2 separate regions of the Homo sapiens genome follow, and region 1 is linked to region 2. The links are contacts of gene promoters, found by promoter capture Hi-C in blood cells and fetal thymus (Javierre and others, 2016). All regions are on one chromosome and are shown on one strand. The core of a region is centred on a gene start or on the middle of the fragment in contact, and the rest is flanking DNA. Distances in the headings are between cores, read along the strand shown.

Evidence for each region. The method cuts DNA at HindIII sites, captures the fragments that hold promoters and counts their contacts. A CHiCAGO score of 5 or more calls a contact.
Region 1: a fragment that was not itself captured here is called in contact with the fragment with the promoter of BORCS6 in region 2 in 1 of 17 cell types (megakaryocytes); the score reaches 6.5 in megakaryocytes.

What each region holds. Positions count from the first base shown.
Region 1 is chr17:8,323,527-8,328,885 of GRCh38, forward strand. No RefSeq gene overlaps it. Among named protein-coding and RNA genes, the nearest start is that of ODF4, 14 kb to the right of the region's middle. The HindIII fragment of the contact is 1,610 bases long and covers 3,258-4,867 here.
Region 2 is chr17:8,187,854-8,193,447 of GRCh38, forward strand. It overlaps BORCS6 (BLOC-1 related complex subunit 6), which reads right to left and starts at 2,327. Exons shown (of 1, transcript NM_017622.3): 1 at 492-2,327. The coding sequence starts at 2,287. The coding sequence ends at 1,214. It overlaps LOC124903913 (a long non-coding RNA gene), which reads right to left. Exons shown (of 2, transcript XR_007065604.1): 2 at 3,422-4,647. RefSeq lists enhancers at 306-355, 1,494-2,140, 2,119-2,398, 2,141-2,786, 4,604-4,703 and silencers at 1,579-1,628, 1,699-1,758, 1,959-2,008. The HindIII fragment of the contact is 3,696 bases long and covers 1-3,418 here.

The sequences.
Region 1 (5,359 bases), core at 2,813-5,312, 140 kb after region 2:
AGAGGCCGAGGCGGGTGGATCACCTGAGGTCAGGAATTCGAGACCAGCCTGGCCAACATGGTGAAACACTGTCTCTACTAAAAATACAAAAATTAGCTGGGCATGGTGGTACATGCCTGTAAGTCCCAGCTACTCGGGAGGCTGAGGCAGGAAAATCCTTTGAACCTGGGAGGCAGAAGTTGCAGGAGGTTGCAGTGAGCCGAGATAGCGCCATTGCACTCCAGCCTGGGCGACAGGGCGAGATTCCATCTCATAAAAACAAAACAGGGGCCGGGTGCAGTGGCTCATGCCTGTAATCCCAGCGCTTTGGGAGGCCAAGGCGGGTGGATCACCTGAGGTTGGGAGTTTGAGACCAGCCTGACCAATATGGAGAAACCCCGTCTCTACTAAAAATACAAAATTAGCCGGGCATGGTGGCGCATGCCTGTAATCCCAGCTACTCGGGAGGCTGAGGCAGGAGAATCGCTTGAACCCGGGAGGCAGAGGTTGCAGTGAGCCGAGATGGCACCATTGCACTCCAGCCTGGGCAACAAGAGTGAAACTCCATCTCAAAAAACAAAACAAAACAAACCCTCCCCTCCCCAAAAAAAAACAGCACTAAGATAAAATCAGTAAGCAGTAAGCAGAAAATACAGCAAGGGCTGTGGCATAGAATGTTGTGTGTGTATGTTTTGGGGGAGGGTGGTGGCTTTAGGGCAGATCCTGGAAGAGATGACATTTGAACTGAGACCCAGATGACTTCCAGAGGAAGTAGCCCTGGGAAGATCTGGGGAAAGAGCATTCGAATGGAGGCAACAGGGGGCGATAGTCCAGGAACAGAAGGTAGTGGTAGTGGGGATGGGAATTGGTGCACGTGCCCCTTCAAGTGTCCTGGTAGGTGGAGCCCCTCCCCACCAAGGTCTCCCTCCCTCTTTGGCATAAGATGGAGACACACTGGGATACTCAGACAGACAGACATCCGGGGGCAGACGTGCCCCATACACCTTCTCTCCTGGCTCCTCATCCCTTACTGGAGTCCTGCCACTAAGGAAGCCCCCATGCTCCAATTCAGATGTTCTGATGGTGGGATAATGGGGAGATGCCGACCAGGTAAGGGTTATTTTGGGACATAAAGGTGTATAAAATACAACCATATGTTCCAAAAGAGACTGAGAAGACAGGAAGGGAGGGGACTGCCATGTTTCCTGACTTTTGGGGGTTGGATTCTGTTATCTCAGAGCCTGCTTTCCATTTTGGGGTGACCTGAGTGTGTTTGTCCTGGAGGGGTCTGCATTCTGCTGGCCTGTCTAAGGGGGCCGAAGGGCATGAAACACAGCTATATGGGAAAGGAACGGATGTGGGGGAATGAGGACTACAGCAAGGAGAGCGTGGATAGACAGAAGATGGGAATGGGGATGGGGTAAAGAGGACAGAAGAGGGAGGCTGATGGGGGGTGTTGCAGGACAGGTGGCAGGAGGTAACTCAGCTCATTCCAAATTGTCTCCCTCCCTCTCCCTCAGGCATCTCTGCTATGGGTGTCCAGTGTCCCCTCCCTTCTGTGTTCTTCCTGCCCCTCTGGGTTGCCTCCTGCAACTTCCTCATAGGTGGCGTAGGAGGGCCCATGGGAGAAACCTCTCAGCGGTGCCCTGTCTGCGTTCCAGGCATGCTGGTGGGGGTAGTACAGAGAGGTTCACTGAGTCAGCTGGGGAGTCCTAGAGCCACTATCACCTTATTCCCTCACAGTCTATCATGCTGGGGAGGTGGAAGAAACCAACATTTCCACAGGCTCAGGAAAGGTGCAGGCGTCCCCGGGGGGAGATGCCTGAGGCGACAGGGTGGGAAAGCTGGCCCCAGTTGGGGACCTTTCTCTGAGTCAGTGTGGACACTCTTCACCCGTGGCCCTGCTCCTCATAGCTGAAGCCTCCATATTCTGGGAGTCAATTGTCAACCTAAAAGGAAGAGGCTGAGGCACAAAATATGGTTGAAAGAGTTTACTTGAGCCCAAGGGGGCCGGGCATGGTGGCTCACGCCTGTAATCCCAACACTTTGGGAGGTCGAGGCAGGTGGATCACCTGAGGTCATGACTTTGAGACCAGCTTGGCCAACATGGTGAAACCCCGTCTCCACTAAAAATACAAAAAATTAGCCGGGTGTCGTGGTGCCCGCCTGTAATCCCAGCCACTCGGGAGGCTGAGGCAGGAGGATCCTTTGAACCCAGGAGACAGTGGTTGCAGTGAGCCAAGATCGCGTGATTGCACTCCAGCCTGGGTGACAAGAGCGAGACTCTGTCTCAAAAAACAAAAAACAAACGAAAGACAAAGGGAGGACGGCTGCCAGGAAGACTCAGACCCAAGTAACCTTGGATATGAGCTCCATTAGGGCTTTGTTACAAGCAGGTTTTCAAAGGCAAAAAAGGGGGACAGGGAGTGGGCTGTGGGCTGATACAAAGTTGTTAGGAATTCTCATTGGTTTAAAGGAAGCTCTTTGATTAGTGATTGGCTATATACTGTTAAGCTATAGGGGGTGGGTTATAGTGTCCAGTGTGGCATTACCAGGTTAATTCATAGCTACTTATGGCAAGAGCAAGCCAATGCAAGCAGTTAAAGAGGTGAATACCTAGCTCAAAGGGGGTAATGGGATGTCACTGTTGTCTCATTTTAATTCCTCTCTGGCCCTGATTTTTTTTTTTTTTTTTGTCACAAGATTTGGCTTTGTCACCCAGGCGGGAGTGCAGTGGCACGATCTTGGCTCACTGCAGCCTCGAGCTCCTGGGCTCAAGCGATCCTCCTGCCTCAGCTTCCTGAGTAGCTGGGACCACAGGCAGGAGCCAACACACCCGACTAATTTCTGTATTTTTTGTAGAGACGGCGTTTTGCCATGTTGCCCAGGCTGGTCTGGAACTCCTGGGCTCAAGCGATCCTCTCTATGGGCCTGATAATTTTAAAAGCCTTGCCCCCCTCAGATAAAAAGTTTTTCTTTTCCTACAAGATAAGGCAGATAGTAAAGGGCACGGGCCTCTCTTTGAGCTGGCCTTCTGTGGGCTCCGGGTCAAGATCTTAGTGGCCAACATCGCAGATAAACGGGGGTGGGGGTTGCAATCATGCCCACAAGCAACAGAGGAAAGAGAGGAGCCTCGCCCTCTTCCCCCCACGCCCCGGCCCCCAAGCCTGCTCACTAGCTCTCTCCTCCTCCTTCCACCCGCAAGGAACCCTCCAGCCCACTTCCTGTGATCCTTTCCGGAGCCCTTCAGCCTGGCTGGCTCTCCAGCCATCTCGGAAAGCTTCTCTTTCCTAAACCCTCCATACTCGCAGGTTCAGCTACAGAGGTAACTGCAGGCTCAGGTTCTCCAGGGTGGCCAGCCCACCAGCCCACCGTCCCGGTGCAGCAGTGCCTCTCCAGCGACAGCTCCACCGCGAGCCTGGCGGGCTCCCGACCTTGCTCCCCAGCACGTCGTCTCCAAGCCACGGTCTCACCACCCTCCATCAGCCTCGGGCGACACCAAGGGGAACAGAGCGCTGGAGCTCCTCGAAGTCCTCCCGACCTTAGCGGGGCTCCGTTCATCCTCCCGGACGTGGCCAGGCCCCGCTCTGGCCCCGCGCCCGCCCCTCCCGCGGGGCTGCCCCTGTCTCTCTGCCGGAGACCCGGACTCAGTGAGTGAGCGCAGCGCGGCCATAGGGCTTCCTGCAGCGGGGTCTCAGCACGTCTTCTGGCTGGACTCTGGGGTCTCCTGGCCTGGCTGTGTCTCCTGGTTCTCAGCGCTCGCCTCCCACGCGGGGCGGAGTATGGGAGTGGGCTGCTCCCGCGGAAGAATCCTGGGGAAGTTGAGGCACTGGCTCCCGCTGTTCAGAACACTGCCCGACGTCCCCAGAGCTAGCCACTCCTCCTTCCCACCCACCCGCAGCACTCTCGAGGTCGCAACGGCAGTCACCAGGTCCCGGGGCCTGCGTTCAGCTGCTTGATCCGACTAGGTTTGGCTTCGGACCCGAATGGGTCAGCTCCACGCCCGATGGAGTTTTTCAAGCTGGTGCCTGCACGTGCCCCCGCCGCGGGGCATGAAGCCGTGGGCTGCGCCCAAACTGCCTCACAACCACCGCTGACCCGAAGCCTCTCTCACTCCGTCCACTGTTAGAAACCTGAAGCTGCCCTCTGTGAGAAAGCGTTGGGATTGAATCCAGACTTTTGGGGAACCTTAACAATAAAGAATACAAAATATTGACTAAAAATTGGATTTGAAAGTGACCCTGAGTTGTTGTTGTTGTTTTTGTTTTAGACGGAGTCTCACACTGTCACCCAGTCTAGAGTGCAGTGGCGTGACCTCGGCTCACCGCAACCTTCGCCTCCTGGGTTCAAGCGATTCTCCTGCCTCAGCCTCCCGAGTAGCTGGGACTACAGGCGTGCGCCACCACACTCGGCTAATTTTTTATATTTTTAGTAGAGACGGGGCTTCACCATATGGCCAGGCTGGTTTTGAACCCTTGACCTCATGATCTACCCCCATCGACCTCCCAAAGTGCTGGGATTACAGGGGAGGCACTGCGCCCAGCTACTCTTCCTTGATTTACGACAACCCTTGGTTATTGTGATTGGGTCGAGATGGGTATGTGTCCCAATTTGGATCAATGAGTTCAGAGACAGTTAATTCGAGACCCACCCAAGAGCCACTTGAATGAGCCATTCTCTCTTCCCCTGGACATTGCAGTGTGAGGATATAAGGTTTGGATCAGTGGCTGCCATTTTAGTGCAGTGAGAGGCAGCTTGGAGTTGCTGGGGAGGCCACTGGATACAGCCTGATGAAGGAGCCAACACCACAAAACTGGAAATGGAGAGACAAGGGGAAAGCCAGGTCCTTGTTATCATCACTTGAGTTCCAGGATCAAGTCTCATCTGAAGCTTTTATCTTGATTTTTCAGTTATTTTTGTTTGTTTGTTTGTTTGAGGCAGGATCTCGCACTGTTGCCCAGGCTGGAAGGAAGTGGCACGATCTCGGCCCACTGCAACCCTCTGCCTCCTAGGTTCAAGCTATTCTCATACTTCAGCCTCTCTAGTAGCTGGGACTACAGGCATGCGCCACCATGCCCAGCTAATTTTTTTTTTTTTTTTTTTTTTTTAGATGGAGTCACACTCTGTCACCCAGGCTGGAGTGCAATGGCATGATCTTGGCTCACTGCAACCTCTGCCTCCTGGGTTCAAGTGATTCTGTTGTCTCAGCCTCCTGAGTAGCTGGGATTGCAGGCGCCTGCGATCATGCCCCACTAATTTTTGTATTTTTAGTAGAAATGAAGTTTCACCATGTTGGCCAGGCTGGTCTCAAACTCCTGACCTCAGGCGATCTGCCCGCCTGGGCCTTACAAAGTGCTGGGATTACAGGCACGAGCCACTG
Region 2 (5,594 bases), core at 1,077-3,576:
CATCTTATGGCCACAATATATGGCTCCTGAACTTACTGTGTGAACTGTAAACAAAAGGCTTTGGGACAAATTTGTCTCAAACCACGTGGCACTGATCTGCAGAGTGTGGGAAATGGTCAGGAATAGAGCTGACAAGTGTTCCCAGTCTTCCCCCAGAGGTAAGATGTCCGTCCAATCCACCCAGCCCCTGCCTATTCATGAGGACCTGAGAAGACAATTTCTTCCCCTTCTCTTCTAGAGCATCTTTTTTACGTTTCTGTGGTTACCGGATCTCTGGGCCCCTGTGAGTGATTATCTGTGTCCTCACATTTCCCCTCAGACCAGATGCTTAAGAGCAAGAACCATATCTTTCCCCACGGAGCCTGAGACATCTCCACCCCCACCCCACTCCCAGCACCAGCCCCAAGGGAGCTGCGTGAACAACACCGACCCTCATTCCCATTCCTTTGGCTTATTAATCACTGCAACCCCACACAGACTCAGCCTCAGCCTTCGCAGCAGCAGCACTTTAATTCCACAAAAACTCAGAAAGCCAAAACTGATTAGAACACTCCACAACAGGTGAGCTTCAAAACCAGCAACATTCTACCTGAACCCTGAGAGCAGTGAGACGCCTCCCACCTCACCCCCTCCGCCGTGCAACCCATTCCTCCTAGCTGCACGCCGGTTCTGGCTGGGGAAGTGGTATGGTAGAGGGCCAGAGGGCAGAAGCAGAAGGCTCTCCATCAGCAGGGGTGCATCTTTGCCTGCGGGGTGTTTGGCCAAGGACGGCACAAGCTCCCACAGCCCCTGGCACCTGAGATGTGGCCACTGGAGTCAGGATAGCCACAGTGGGGGCTGGGGCTTCCTCTGTCCCTTTCTCCTGATTACATGTGGGAGTCACGTCCTCACCTTCAAGCAGACCTAAAGCCCCGTGTTCCCAGGGCTGGTGCTCTAGCTAGGGAGGAGAGTTGGGAAGAACAGGGTAGCTACAGATGGCCAACTGAATACAAGCAGAGCAACATCCCTTCCCACCAGGAGAGCCGTTAGAACTTCCCCACATACACCAGCCTAAGGCCCAGCGAGTGGGCACGGGCCAGCTGAACGCATCTGGAAGAGCCTCCAACACACAGGCCTCCCCTCAGTGGGCACTTCCCACCAGGACTCCCTGAAGAGTCCTTAGGGTCCTGCTGGGCCCTGCCCTGGCCAGGACCGGCCTCTCCTGTCCTCCTGGTCACTTGCACAGGGCCTCCAACACCTCCAGAGTACGTCGGATATCCCGGACTTGGCGCGCCAGCCCCTGAACCGGCTGCAGAGCCCGCTCCAGCTCCTCGCAGCGCGCCAGCAGGGTGTACATGCCCTTGATGCTCATGTCCACGGCTTCACCTAAGGAGTCCACAGCATCGCGGTAGGTCTGGATGCAACCCACGCTCAGCGCCGTCAGCTCCTGCACCGCGCCACCCAGACCGCGAAGCAGACGGTCCACCCGGCCTCCCAGCTCCCGACTCAACCGCTCCAGATCCCGCAGCACCTCGGGGTCGATTGGGGGAATGGCCGGTGTGGGTGTGGGTGCAGGCGCTGGGCAGGGCCGCGCAGGGGCAGAAGGCGGGGGTGGAGGCGCGCCGCTCAGACGGATCTTGAGTTGCAGGTTGTTGGCGACAAAGTGGGTAAGGTCGCCGTGGCGGCTCACTGTGCCTTCGAGCTCCAGGGGACTGGAGATGGTGGCGCGGCGTCCGCCGCCCGCGCCGGACTCGGCACTCCCTGAGGACCCGGCGCCACCGCACGCCTCGCTCAGCCCGTCCAGGCTGCGGCTGTCCTGAAGACGGCTGGAGAACGAGCGGCCGGCTCTGCTGCCCGCGGCCGCCTCCTCGTCGTTGTCTTCCTCCTCCTGCTGCTCAACATCCATCCCGCCGCCTGGTCCCCCTCGACGGCAGTCCCTCCCGGAGGAGGGCTTGCCCTCGGGCGGCGCCGGGTTCTTGTGCCGGGAGGACAGGGAAGGTTCGTGCTCTGCACCCGGCGCCCCCCTGCGGCTCCCGGCCCCAGACAGCGTCCCTTGAGGGCCGGGCTCGTTCTCCAGAGCCTCCCGTTCCGGCCGGTGGACGACGCCGCAGCTTGACGTCTTCGGGGACGTCCTGGGGTGGCGGTTCGCGCCCCCAACGTTCTCGGTCTCTTCCTCCCCGGACACCCGGAGGCCTGCGGGCGGCTCAGAGGACGTTCGGCCCGGCCCGCCGCCAAAGACTAGGGCCTGATGTTCCGCTACAGCCAGAAGGTCCGTCTCGGGCCCGGGCCGCCCCCGAGACGACTCCATACTGCAGGTGGGGGCCGCAACGGAGGAATTGGTTCGCCCCGGCTCCGGAGGCAGTGGCTGCGCCTTTAAGGGGCGTTGGTAGAGGCGAGCCGATTGGCAGCGGCTGACAATGGTAAGGACAGGAAAAGCATTTTGATTGGTCGCGGCGACCAGGAAGTCCCGGAAGAAGAGCTGTTACTGCACAGCGGAACACACGTGAACGCCGGCAGGGTGGAGAGAAGGAGGTGACAGCTGCTCCCGTCGCCCCGCCCTTTCTGAAAGCTGATGGGGCAGATCTTAAAGACCAAGGTCCTCAAATTCCTGAGTCCCGAGGGGTGGGGCTCAGATCCTTTCTGCCTGTAATTGTACCCCCCCCAACAGTGATTGCTTAGCAAAAATACCAAGTGGGGAGCCCACTTGGGGTTCCTAGAGAGGTTCTTAGGATGAAAATGGCATATCCTTCTTGGACCATCAGGGTTGAACCTAGTTGACTAAAAAGAAGGAAACCAGAAGTCCAGCATGAGCATGAATGGTTTGCTCTATCTTTCTTGGTTAAGAGACCTAACCACTGAACTGCTCAGAGCGACCCACTGTGGTCAAGGCAGCGGCCTCTGGGCTTTCCTATGCGTTTGTCACTCTTGTTCTGTGTCTCTTGCCCCTTTCACACTGAGGGGTCTCGCCCCTTGGAGGATGGCGTGTGATTTTGCCACGAGGTAAAATATTCAACAAATGAAATGATCACAAATTTTGATATGTGCTATACAGGAAATAAAGTGTTATGATTGAGAATATAACTGAGCAGGCACTAGTTTAGGTAAGGGGTCAGGAAAATACCTCTTTGGTGAGACTTTTAACTAAAAAGAACCAAAAAGACGCAGCCACCCCCCAGGCAGAGAGAAGAAAACTTGAGCTACCTCTCAGAGACAAAGAAGTCTTGACGTATTCAAGAAACTGAGGTGAGGGGGCAGGAGACATTGGGACTAAAACAAAATCAGCAAGATAAGGGGAAGGATTTCGAGCCAAGGAGCTGAACAGGCAGCAGGGGCCACGTCATGCAGGGGGCCTTGTAGTTCCTGTTAGGGAATGGAGATTTCCTCTAAATGCAATGGTGCAGCGACATTGGAAAGGTTGTACATTGCAACACATAGCCAAAGCTTGGAGACATCAGTATTTTTATTTATTTATTTATTTATTTATTTATTTATTTATTTATGTATTTAGAGACAGAGTCCCACTCCGTCACCCAGGCTGGAGTGCAGTGGCGCGATCTCGGCTCACTGCAACCTCCGCCTCCTGGGTTCACGCGATTCTCCTAACTCAGTCTCCCGGGTAGCTGGGATTACAAGCGCCCGCCACCACGCCCGGCTAATTTTGTATTTTTAGTAGAGATGGGGTTTCACCATGTTGGCCAGGCTGGTCTTGAACTACTGGCCTCAAGTGATCCACCCGCCTCGGCCTCCCAAAGTGCTAGCATGACAGGCGTGAGCCACCGTGCCCGGCCAGACATCAGTATTTAATAAAAACAGTTTGCTAACTCTCCTTAGCTGACAAAGGATGTGGTTGTTTTTTCCATTTGGATAGAGAGATGTCTTGAGGCAGTGTCATGCCAGCATTCAGAAGTGCAACTCCCCAGAACTTCCCAGCACTACTATCCCCAGGTGCCTGCCGGGGTCCTAGCCAGCCAACCCTAATGATAGTAGCTCAATCTTTCACCACGCCTGAGGAGTCCACAATTGTCAGCTGTCTGTATCTTATAGTCACCTGCAGCTTGACAAAACCTGTCATTCCTTTGCTCTAAAAAAAAAAACCTAAAAAGCTCATATATAATTGGGCTGGGTAGGTAGATATTCTTTAGAAGATGGGAGGACTTCCCTTGAGAATGGGAAGCTGAGCACAGGAAGAGAGTGATGTGATGGGATTCATGTTTAGGGATTACTGGCTGTTGTAGAAAATGTTTGCAAGGGAGACGGTAGACCAGTGAGGAGGCGGTTCCAAGTACCAGGTGATAGTAGCTCAGCCTAGCACGATGTGGATGGATGCATTCTAGATGTATCTTGAAGGTTTTAGCGGACAAATGGGCTACCCACCGTCTCTCTGTGTAGGGGAAGCTCCTCACTCCTCAACTCCCCATTCCCTGATGTGTTGGTGCAATGACAGCCAGGAACAGGCACGTGACCCAAAACTGGCCAATTAGAGTACTTCATCCTTCTGACTGCAGATTGGCTCAGGGAAGGGCACATGACCCAATGTATGACCAGTAAAAATCCTCCACAGTGTTGTTTGTTTCTAGCTTTGTGGAGAGTGTGAGACGCCTTTCTGTTCTCTTGAGAGCTCAAGCTGGGTATCAGCTTGTCCATCTTTCATGTCCAGGAGATCGCTGTCTGTAGAAGGAAAGAATGAGGCTGATAAGGAAGAGAACCAGAGACAAAAGATGAAGAGGCATGAGTTCTGAGAGCGTTTGAATTCCTGTGCCAGCCTGAAGATAGCCCCACCTTTATCCTTCCTGTGATTTGGTTCCTTGCCCCACCCCTATCGCACCACCTCCCCCGCAAAACCTTGTTTCTTCCTACGGTGACTTCTGTCTCAGTAAGTGGCAACTCCATCTTCCCAGTGGCCAAGGCCAAAAACCCTGGAGTTGTACTTGACTCCTCTTTCTGTCATAATCCATGGCCAATCCTTTAGGAAATCTTGTTGGTTCTGCTCGAAAATACATCCAGAATCTGACCACTTCTCATCCTTACCATTGTTTCTGCCCTGGTCCAAACCACCATCATTTTTGGCCTGGATAAATGAAGTTGCTTCCCGAATGGTCTCACTTCTTCTACCCTCACCTCTCTCTACAGTCTATTTTCAATAGAGAACCAGAATGATCCTTTAAAAATGTAAATTATCAGCAGGGCGCGGTGGCTCACGCCTGTAATCTCAACACTTTGGGAGGCCGAGGTGGGCGGATCACGAGGTCAGGAGATCGAGACCATCCTGGCCAACATGGGGAAACCCCGCCTTTACTAAAAATACAAAAACATTAGCCCGGTGTGGTGGCGCGCACCTGTAATCCCAGCTAATCTGGAGGCCGAGGCAGGAGAATCACTTGAACCCGGGAGGCGGAGGTTGCAGTGAGCCGAGATTGTGCCACTGCACTCCAGCCTGGCAACAGAGCGAGACTCCGTCTCAAAAAAAAAAAAAAAAAAAAAAAAAAAAATTAGCCAGACATGGTGTTGCACACCTGGAGTCCCAGCTACTGTAGAGGCTGATGCGGGAGGATTGCTTGAACCCAGAAGGTTGAATCTGCAGTGAGCTATCATCGGACTATTGCACTCCAGTCTGG